Linked DNA regions of Homo sapiens: region 2 is linked to region 1. Evidence: promoter capture Hi-C in human tissues and cell types (Jung and others, 2019). All regions are on one chromosome and are shown on one strand. The core of a region is centred on a gene start or on the middle of the fragment in contact, and the rest is flanking DNA. Distances in the headings are between cores, read along the strand shown.

Region 1 (5,582 bases), core at 83-2,582:
ATGCTGGCATTAAACAACTCTCAAGCTACCAGATCCGTCTGAATTATAAAAATGCTTAAGAAGGTTTAAGTGCACCTGTACAATTAGTTAATTCACCAAGAAAACTAGAAACAACCAGAAATGAAGATTCTTTTGAGTTTTCAAAAACGCTTAGTGTGTAGGGTTCAGTGGCATTACAACAGTCATTTCAAGGCTTATGGCCAATTTCCATTCTAACAATAATAAAATTTTTTTTCTGGAAGGGGGATAGTAGCAAGGTGCGAGTTAGCAACTACTTGGAGAACAGAACAGAGCTGTTGGTGAGCAGACTTGAAAGGACATCCTTTCCTGGTAGGTTTCTCTATTTCTCAATAATGATCATACTTTTCTTGTCTGCTCTTTCTCCTTAAAATTAAAACTCCTTTACGGATGCATTTGGGGTTGCAGGGAGCCCAGCTCCACCGACCTGCTTGTTCTGAGAAATCACCCGGAACGCAGTTCCCTCAGGGACGGGCCGACCCAGCGCCACCTGTGGGCGGCGCCGCAAAGCCCGCGCGCGCCACAGGTCTCCGAGGCGACACCCGCCAGACTCGGCGCCTCCTCCCTCCAGTCTCCCTGCAGGGCCCCCTCAGTTCTCGCCCCTCGTTACTCTTCGAGGTCCTCCCCTTACGTTTCCTTCCCAAGTTCACCCCTAAAGATCTTCCTTCACCCCTTACGCCACCCTTCCCGTTCCCTCCTCCTGTTTCCACTTCACGTTCACCCCTCCCGTTCCCTCCTCAAGTTCATTCCTCACGTTCCCTCCTCGAGATCCCCCCTCACTATCCCCTCGCGTTCCCTCCTCGGGTTCACCCACAAGATCTTCCCTCAAGTCCACCCCTCAGGTTCACCCTTCCCGTTCCCTCCTCCTGGCTCCCCCTCGAGTTCACCCCCGCCCCCGTTTCCCCCTCAAGTTCATCCCTCTCCTCCCCTCGAGCTCTCCCATCCAGCTCGTTCAAGCCTCACATTCCCCCTCTTGGTTTCCCGCTCTACTTCTCCCCTCGAGTCCCCTCTCTCACCCCAGGCCCCGACAAACACACAGGTCCTCCGGATCTGACCTGGGCGGGCGGGCGGTCGCGGCAGCCTCGCGCTCAGAGAGCCCCGGGCCCGCCCTGCAAGCCCCGGGGTCCAAGGAAGCGGGGCCGTTTCCAGCGCCGCGCGGGCGCCGCTACCCACCGCCGCCCCAAGCCAGTCCCCTGCGCTGTCCCGACACGTACCTGGGCGGGAAGCCGGGCGCCTCCTTATTTCTTTACGGGGGCGCTGGCTACGGGCGCTCCCTCGAGGGGCGGGCAGGGGCAGCCGAGCAGGGGAAGAACTGGGCCGCCTGTAGAGGGCGGGCCGAAGGTCGGCGGGAGGATCTGACCTGGGTCAACCGAGCCGAAGGGGCCCCTTATCCCGGCTCGCGGGGAATATTCTTCCTCTCGCCGCTCTCTCCACTGCCCGCAGGTGGAGGCCGCGCCATCCGCGCCATCCACATCCTCGCAGGGCCCTTGGCTGGCTGCCGAGGGGCTTCCCGGGACTCCGGCCGCGCTTCCTTGGCCCGGAGCCCGGCGAGAAGGGAGTGGGGCCCCTGGATCCTGGAGCCCTCATGGACTGGCCCAGTGCCTGGAGCAAATTCTGCTCCCGGCCCCGCGTAGTATCTTCCTCCCAGGAAATTCCCCACACTACGAGGGTCTCGGACCCGGAAAATGTAATGGGTTTCAGGTCCAAGAGGGATAGTGAGTGGCTAATGAGATCGCTCCCAGGGTCCAGTTCCCTTTTGCAGACTGCTAAGGAGTTTGGGGCTGGGGCTGAAGTTAAAGGCAAGAACTTCTACCCTCGGGAGGCAGCCCGTTAGTCACCAACCCTCTACTTGGTCCTTTGCAATCCTTTCCAGACCTTCTGTGGTCTCCTGTCACACAGGGCTCACCTGGGGGGACCCTGATGGCCAGATTCTCTTGAACAGTCTCTAGGGACATATTGGGTATTGCTATACCTTCATCCATTGAACAGGTGAGAACTACAACCAAAACATCCTTTGATTCTGTTAATTATCTCAATGGGTCTGTCGTTCATGTTATCTAAATGAGAATTATAGAAGAGACCAAAGAGAGGTCATCTAATCCTAATCAATGCATATCTTAAGGAAAAAATGTGATGTTAAAAATCTGTTTCAAAAGGTCATTCAGTATATTCAAGACCCTTCCTCTTAAAGTAGCTTTAAAATTTAGAAATTGGGCCGGGCGCGGTGGCTCACGCCTGTAATCCCAGCACTTTGGGAGGCCGAGGCGGCCGGATCACAAGGTCAGGAGATCGAGACCATCCTGGCTAACACAGTGAAACCCCGTCTCTACTAAAAAATACAAAAAAATTAGCCGGGCATGGTGGCAGGCCCCTGTAGTCCCAGCTACTTGGGAGGCTGAGGCAGGTGAATGGCGTGAACCCAGAAGGCAGAGTTTGCAGTGACGGAGCCGAGATCACGTCACTGCACTCCAGCCTGGGCGATAGAGCGAGACTCCGTCTCGAAAAAAAAAAAAAAAAAAATTAGAAATTGAATAGTGGACTTGTAATAGGGATTATATTGAATCAAAAGCCTAACATATATGAACAGCTTCAAATCAAGAAGTTATCTCATCAAAAACAGATCACAGCAAATATATTATTCAACATAATTATGGCCATTTGGACATACCTGGGAGATTTTAAGAATTAGAGCAACTGAGTGCTCACATGCAAAATAAAGTCACAATCTCAATAGAGACAAACAACACCCAATTAAAATACAATAGAAAAATAGATCCCATTCACAATAGAAGCATGAAAGAACATGAAATAACTAAGAATGATAAAAAATGAGAAATATAGGAGAAAAGTGGGAAAAAATTTAAAAATGCAGGATTGTTGACAGACTATTTATAATTGGAAAGACACTGGAATCCTAAGTTAGAAGACAAGATGTTAAACACATAATTACTACCTCCCAAATTAAGAGACAAATATATTCTAGAATTCATATGAAAACTACAGAAGCTAGAAGAGCTAAGTCCAGTGGTTCTCAGAGTGTGGTCTAGGGGAAATTTGTTGGGGGTCAGGGGGCGGTCTCTGAAACCATTTCGGGAGGTTCACAGGACCAAAATTACTTTAATAATAAGACTTTTTTCCACTCCTTTTTCTCTCCCATTTTTTAAATGAATTTATGATGAAGTTTTCCAGTGGCTCCATAATATGTGATATCACAACAGATTGAATGCAGAAACAGGTAACGTCTTCTGTTATGCCAGACATTAAAGAAATGTGCAAGAATATAAAATAATGCCATTCTTACCATTAAACTTTTTTGGTTTTGGAAAATACAGGTATTTTTCACTTAAAAATATGCTATTCATGTTAACATGTAATGAGCTTAGTAGTGAAATATATTTTTAAAATTTCTCAGTTTTAATTGCTATAACATAAAAGTTCTTTGGAGTCCTCAAAACTTTTTAAGAGTGTAAATAAAGGAAGGTTCTAAGACAAAAAAAATTGAGAACTTTTTTTTTTTTTTTTCTTTGAGACGGAGTCAGTCTCACTCTGTTGCCAGTCTGGAGTGCAGTAACACGATCTCGGCTCACTGCAACCTCCGCCTCCCAGGTTCAAGTGATTCTCCTGTCTCAGCCTCCCGAGTAGCTGAGACTACAGGCACCGCCACCATGCCCAGCTAATTTTTGTATTTTTAGTAGAGACAGGGTTTCACCATGTTGGGCAGGATGGTCTCGATCTCCTGACCTTGTGATCCACCCACCTCAGCCTCCCAAAGTGCTGGGATTACTGGTGTGAGCCACTGCCTCCAGCCCTGAGAACCTTTTGATAAGGCAATGAAAAAAGAAACATGTAATTAAGCTATAATAATGAAAAGAATGGCATTAACACGGAATAGAATAGTGTGTCCAATCCAACCAGCCTAAGACCATCAAGGACAAAACCTGCAGTCCCACAAAGTCAGGTTCATTGACTCAATGTTACAGTAGAGATACTGCAAACTAGAGGAACCATGAAGTGGAGTTTTGATAGGCTCAAAGCAAAGCAGAGCTGGGAGTCAACATGAGGTTTGGGCTGTGACCAAGGGTTCTGTTTCCTTGGATAAATGTGGAATGCTGTCTTGGGAAACTCCTTATCTGAAGCTCTGTACTTGAGTTGTAAATCGGGGCCATGTCTCTGTTGTCAAAGTGAGTTAGATCCTACAAGCAATTATGGGAGGTTTCATTTTTACTGACATAATTTCAAAAATCAAATTTTCTGATAGTCTATGAGCATAGGAAGCAAGATTTTCCAATGAGTTAGAAAGAAGTAGTCACTCAAAAAAGGGGACTGTTGTTGACATTTCACAGCACAGCCTGCCCTTGGAAGAAGCATGGTGTCCTGTTCATCTTACACCTGGCAATATCAACTTTTTTTTTTTTTTTAAGTTTTTGTTTTTCCTTATGTTGCTCAGGCTGGTCTCAAACTCCTGGGTGCAAGAGATCCTCTCATCTCAACCTTCTGAGTATCTGGGACTACGGGTGCGTGCCACAGTCCAGCCTCATTCCAGTTTTAACCGACTCATCTACTTCTTGGCAAAAAGACTCAGAGAAAGCAGAACTGGGCCGAGCAAGGTGGCTCATGCCTGTAATCCCAGCTACTCAGGAGGCTGGGGAGGTGGAGCAATCTCAGTGAGCGAAGATCGCGCTTCTGCACTGGATGACAAAGCGAGACTCCATCTCAAAAAAAAAAAAAAAAAAGAGAGAGAGAGAGAAAAAAAAATGAGTGCACTTGCCAGGAGCAAACTTCCACCTTGTAGACTAATGGCGTCTCATCAGTTAGCCCAGCACAAGTGACCCAGTGATCTGGGAGATCAATTAAGGGAAGAAAGATTGCTCATTCCTGCTTTCTGAGCTTCATAAACCCTACCTTGTGATATTTGTACATGAACTGCAGCCCAATCAAATTAGTTCTCAAATTTAGCCTTATCTCTCTATTCTGCTGATATTGCCTTATTTAGGCCTTCGCCATCCTAGAGTATTCCAGATGTTTCCTAATTTTTCTACTGCCTTGCCCTCTCCACTTTATAATAAGTCAAATCAAATATATTACTCAAGCCCCTTGTAGGAAGACTCCATGCATTTATGATTATGCCTGGGTGGTGACCCTCTCAGGCAAGAAAACAGAGTAAATCGCCTTTAGGTCTAAAAGTTCTCTCTTTTAAAAGTGCAAACTTTCTTTTAGTGCATTATTTCATTTTATATGCATAATGTCCCTCTTTAATGGAAATACCTGTAAGGTAGGTGTCTCTATTTACTAATAAGGAAACTGAAGGGAGGAATCAATGATTTCTCAAAGGCCACCATCTTAGTAATCACCTCTTTATCACACTAAATTCCAAAAGTTACCACCTCTGTAAATGCTCAAATTAGAGTTTGATTCTCACAGAGCTATCAAGGATGAAAACATGATGCTTCAAATGATCTAAACCCCACTGAACTAGCTTCCCAGTGATGGGCCAAGAATGGGCTTCGGCCTTCCTGTGTCCTAAGGACTTTCTTAGGACTTTCTCTCTTTTCTGTATCCACATT
Region 2 (5,582 bases), core at 1,462-3,961, 330 kb before region 1:
TTTTTTGTATTTTTAGTAGAGACGGGGTTTCACCGTGTTAGCGAGGATGGTCTCGATCTCCTGACCTTGTGATCTGCCTGCCTCGGCCTCCCAAAGTGCTGGGATTACAGGCGTAAGCCACCGTGCCCGGCCCAGAGAAACATTCTTTAAGTCAAAATAGCTCTCTGGAGGTTGCTAACATAGCCAACTTTGCATCAGGGTCATTGATCTAGGTTTTTAAAAGGCTTTTTGGAAAAATAACTGATGGTAGAGGTGATTATCACAATCAGTGGTTGTGGGATGCTATTGGCATATAGTGAGCAGTGAGTGGGGTTTTTGGTATTTGTCATTGACTCCATAGTACCTTTGTGGCTCTCCCTGTGAGTCTAGACATACAGCAAGCACTGGACTTCATCACAGCTTCTAGTGCTGTCTTGCTTAGGCTTTTACATATTGAAATAAGTTAATTTATTACAAATTACTTCTATCACATTTCTTCATTTAAAAAAATAATTTGGGCATTATATAGTGAGAAGGGTAAGTTATATTTTTGACCCTTTTTTTTTTTCAGGCCAATAAAGGAGGCGTGACAAAATAATTGGAATATAAAGCAGACATGAAACCTCAAAGCATTGGGAATCACTGATTTAAGTGAAGCTGTTTCCCAAAGAAAGACAATTACCTGGGCAATGGTAATGGACAAGTTACCAGTGATTAGTTTGTCAGGCTGGAATGGAAAAAGGGGCATTACAGTTACATTTGATGCAAAGACTATGGACTTAGATTAGGGCAGCCTACCTTTGGGGAACTTCTGTGAGACTGAGGGGAGGGAAGGGAGGGTGATGTGGTTGAGGAAAGGACACAGAGAGCTTCTCACTCCTTATAAATCTTCCTACACTTCATAACTTTGCCTGGGGGCATCCCTTAAAGCAGTGATTTTCAACCTGATCAGATCAGGCTGTGCTAAAGCACCTTGCTCCAGCCCTGATATAAATAAAAAGTTCAAATTTCTGAGAAAGTGTGGGTATTATCTTTATCTTTTACATAAAGTTTAAAGCACATTAAAATTGCCATAGTATTTTTGCAGGTAAACAAGAAAACTGAGAGTGAGAACTCTTAGAAATTTTTTTTTGCAAATCTTGAATTTTACCCAACTTTACCAAAAGCTAAACACCTTTGCCTGGGAGAATTTTGGGTAGACTAGCTTGACAATCATTATTTGCTCATCAAATCATATCATACTTAACTTTTTTTAAGTATAAGGCAGTAAGATGGCACTGAGGAGTCAGAGATGAGAGTGCATTCAAATTGGAAGGGGCTCCAAGACATGCCTGATTCTAGTCGAACCTTCTCATTTTTCAAATAAGGCAACAGCCTGAAAGGAGAAGTGACTGCCCAAGATCAAATACTGGTAAAAGTCCAGGGAGTAACTCAAAATATAATCTAAGCTTCCAGAACAAACTCAAAGGTGCCAAACATATAGGAAACCTGTTTGGAAAGGTTTGATTATTTTAAGATAAGATAAATATTTTAAGCTCACATCTGACTTTCATGAACCAGAGGTGTCATACAAACCTGCCGGGAAAACAGTAATGAACATATAGTCTGTTTCTTTCCTGTATCAGCGAACTTTGGGCAGAAGGAGGGAGTAGGCTTGTCAAACCATGAACTCCAAGTGTTCACCTCTGGCAGATTGGAAAGGAATGGGGGTGGCTCTAGTTTTTCCTGGGCACTCTGCCTTCCAAAACTATATTTGTTTTCTCTACTTAGGACCCAGAGCCTGACATATGGCAGGTGGTAGATAAACATTTGTTGGAGGAATATGGCTAGAAGGGAAAGTTTAACCCAAGGCTATTAATATGTTTAACTTAATGTCTGACCAGATAGTGAATATGGACGCCTTGGGGGAGGAAACTTACCATCTTTTTCTCTATCTTAGAATTGGCCGGATTACCTTAGAACGCTGGTTCTTAAAATTTAGTGAGCATAATAATCATTGAAGTCCCGGTTTAAAATACATGGCCCCATTCTTAGGGATTTTGATTGAGTAGGTCAGCATAGGGCCCAGGAATTAATTCATCCCACAAATATTTATTGAGCACTTGCTATGTGCCAAGCAGTGTTGCAGGAACTGGGGTAGCAGGGTAAACAAGACAGCTTCTACTCTCCAGGGTTTCCATGCTATCAAGGGAGACAAATAATAAACTGATAAAAAGACAAATATGCACAAGAATTTGCATGTTCATCAGTCACCCAGGTGATTCTGATGCACGTAGACCTGGGTCCATATGTTAAGAAAAGCTGCTTGGGACATTTTAGCCTGGGAGGTATTTAAATAACTGTGGAACACACTAAGTACTTCTCATATGTGCCATGGTTTGGAGCCTTCAGGGCTGCAGGGCAGTGAGCAGAAGGAGCTCCAGATGTAGCCTTGTCCATCCTCTGACTGCCCATATGTTGCGGGGACAGAGACAATTGGGTGACAACCAACAGATTGTCCTCTGCAGATGAGAAGCTGTTGGATCAGTCCTGGCCTTTCTGCACAAGCATCGCCTGGTGCCTGGGAGGCTTTGGATGGCGACTGTTCCATACTCTTTGTGTGGTCTAAAAGTATGTCTATAACGTAAGCATATATCTTTAATAATTATACATCCAGCCTTTAAGCTTACAGTTAAGTGGCCACTGATGCTTTATAACACTGCTCTCAGTTAGTTGTTAGTGTTTAGGAAGGGACTGCTACTAAAGTCAGGGCCATTGAAACAGACTGCTGCTTTGGACAAGGTGTTTTGCATTGAGATCCTTGGTTAGCAGTAGCCTTTAAGAAGTCGTATGATGCTGGCCATACTCGGTGGCTCGCACCTGTAATCCCAGTAATTTGGGAGGCTGAGGCGGGTGGATCACGAGGTCAAGATATTGAGACCATCCTGGCCAACACGGTGAAACCTCGTCTCTACTAAAGATGCAAAAATTAGCTGGGCATGGTGGTGCACACCTATAGTCCCAGCTACTTCGGGTGGCTGAGGCAGGAGAATTGCTTGAACCCGGGAGGTGGAGGTTGCAGTGAGCCGAGATTGTGCCACTGCATTCCAGCCTGGCGACAGAGTGAGACTCCGTCTAAAAAAAAAAAAAAAAAAGTCGTATGATGCTATAGGATCAGATAACTCCCTTAAGTTGACTGGAAAAATCCCAGGAAGAACAACAGGTAGAATCACCAGCAGGAAACATCTTCTCTTTGTGGGAAGAAGCAAAAAGACACAGAATGTACCTTGGACCATGGTCCCAGTTTCATGCCTAATTCCCCATAGCTCCAAAGGGAAGAACTGATTATCTTACCAAAGAAAGCAGGTTACTGGAGAGTCTGTATTTCTAGGCAGGCTTGCAGATGGTCACATGTAGGGTGCCTGAGTCACTAGTTGACCCCGTTCATTGGCCCTGCTGAAACTAGAGATACTATCAGCCTTTCCTAAGTGAGTAGGGCTTAGCTCTATTCCTAAAAACGTGAGTGCAAAGAAGAAAGTATGCGTACATCCTTCCTGCTAGAAATTGACTAAGTTTACATAATAGCAGCACTATCAGCAGCAACGATAAATGACCAGTTTTAGAAGCAGTAACTGTGCGATCCCTGCTCCTCCTCCCGACCCTACAAGAGAGTTATTTTGCACTTACAGTGCAGATTAGGAAACCGAGGTTCAGAGAGGCAGTTGACTATGGTTAAAAGCTTGAAATCTGGGCCGGGCATGGTGGCTCCACGCCTGTTATCCCAGCACTTTGGGAGGCTGAGGCCGGCAGATCACCAGGTCAGGAGATCGAGACCATCCTGGCTAACACAGTGAAACCCCGTCTCTACTAAAAAAATACAAAAAATCAGCCGGGCGTGGTGGTGGGCACCTGTAGTCCCAGCTACTCTGGAGGCTGAGGCAGGAGAATGGTCTGAACACGAAGGCAGAGCTTGCAGTGAGTAGAGATCGCGCCACTGTCCAGCCTGGGCGACAGAGCGAGACTCTGTCTCAAAAAAAAAAAAAAAAAAGCTTGAAATCTGGAGATGGAATAGTGGGTTCCTGCCACAGATCATATATGCTAACTGTGTGTACTTGAAGTTTAAGTTCTTCTTTTTACTCATTTATAAGATAATAGTATTTGTCTCAGAGGATTTGTATGAGGGTTACATAAGATAGTAAGTATAAACAATATTAAGCAAACTCTGCCTAACATTTGGTAACCACTCAATGTGTGTTTGACAGTCTAACATTGTTACATTGTTATTAGCAGTAGTATTGTTATTGTTGTTATTAGCATTATATGACTTGCAGAATGTCACACAGCTAGCAGGAGGCAGATTTCAAATCTAGAGCTGTCTGATAACAAAACCTAGATTCTTGGCACTGTACAACTACCCCGACTTAACAAAAAAACTTTTCAGGTTGACTTCTAGGATTGTAATGACATATGCAAAATGTCCATGTGGTTTTCTGGAAGCCCCCTGGATTGAGCGGTCCAGTGACCCCAATTACTGCTATCAGCATTGGCTAGTAAATAATAAAAGCACGTAACCTCACCCTAAAACATATTTGAGGATGTTGTTCTACCTAGTGTAGCATTCAAACGCAATAGCAGTAAAAAAAACCTGCTAGTTGTTTGTTTATATTTGCTTTTTAACTAGTCAGTGCTAGGCAAAACTATCCTATCAAGATGGCAAGGAGAGTTAATGGATGCAGGTGAATTTTCAAATTGCACAGACTGCGTAGTGACTACAGAAACTGCATAGACTGACTTGGGGAAAAAATTGTTGAAGATGAATTGCACAGGAGCAGTAAAAATTACCAGAGATTTCTCCTGGGGAAAAGAGCTCCCCGTGTCTTTACATAGCTGATACCAACATGGGTAGCCTGTCTTAGGCCCCTAAGATAAATAAACTAACAAAAGTCAAAACTGACCATTTAAGAAGTACTTGTATTACAAAACCAGGCCCTTTGCAAAGAATTTTACCATAATTATAAATAGTGAACTTCCTATTTGCTATAAATAGTGAATCCAAATACATAGTTGGATTTGGAAAAAGAACTTTAACTATAATGATTAATGATATTTTTCTCTTTTAGGATTTGTTTTCCAATGTGCACAATTGAATCACTTAGCATTATTTTCAGGTTATAAGAGAAGGATATTTTGGGTGATTTTTTGTGTATAATTCTAGTAATATTTATTCTTCCCATTGACTTTCTCCAAAAGCATTTACTTAGCACACATACTATGACTATACAACAATGCAAGTGATGTGCAACTGAGACTCCAATCATGATATGGTAAGGAGATATTTTCTTTTGTATATGAAACCTCCTTACTGCTGCCCTTGAAGGGTAGTATTAGAGCTGACAGGGAGGTATATGTATGGGCAAGAAGGTGTGCTGACCACCTCACATTACTCCTCCTTCTCCCCAAACTACCGTCCCTCTTCCCTAAATGTATCTGTAGAGAGGAAAAAAAAAAAAGGATTATGATAAAAGGTTCAAGTTATCATGTAAGAAAACATGCTTGGCTACTCTAAATAAATAACTTTGGAGTCCAAGAGGAAATCAAGATGGCAGTTACAGAACATTAAAAAT

The links. Contacts are between HindIII fragments. The study calls those that stand out against the background at their distance.
Region 2: a contact is called between a fragment that was not itself captured here and the fragment with the promoter of MYO3A in region 1, in 1 of the 25 tissues and cell types used here (H1 embryonic stem cells).

What each region holds. Positions count from the first base shown.
Region 1 is chr10:25,929,979-25,935,560 of GRCh38, reverse strand. It overlaps MYO3A (myosin IIIA), which reads right to left and starts at 1,332. Exons shown (of 35, transcript NM_017433.5): 1 at 1,233-1,332. LOC101929073 (a long non-coding RNA gene) reads left to right here and starts at 1,851. Exons shown (of 4, transcript NR_120650.1): 1 at 1,851-2,007; 2 at 3,200-3,253. The HindIII fragment of the contact is 12,658 bases long and covers 1-5,582 here.
Region 2 is chr10:26,262,737-26,268,318 of GRCh38, reverse strand. The region is part of intron 8 of GAD2 (glutamate decarboxylase 2); the gene reads right to left. Among named protein-coding and RNA genes, the nearest start is that of GAD2, 49 kb to the right of the region's middle. The HindIII fragment of the contact is 4,527 bases long and covers 448-4,974 here.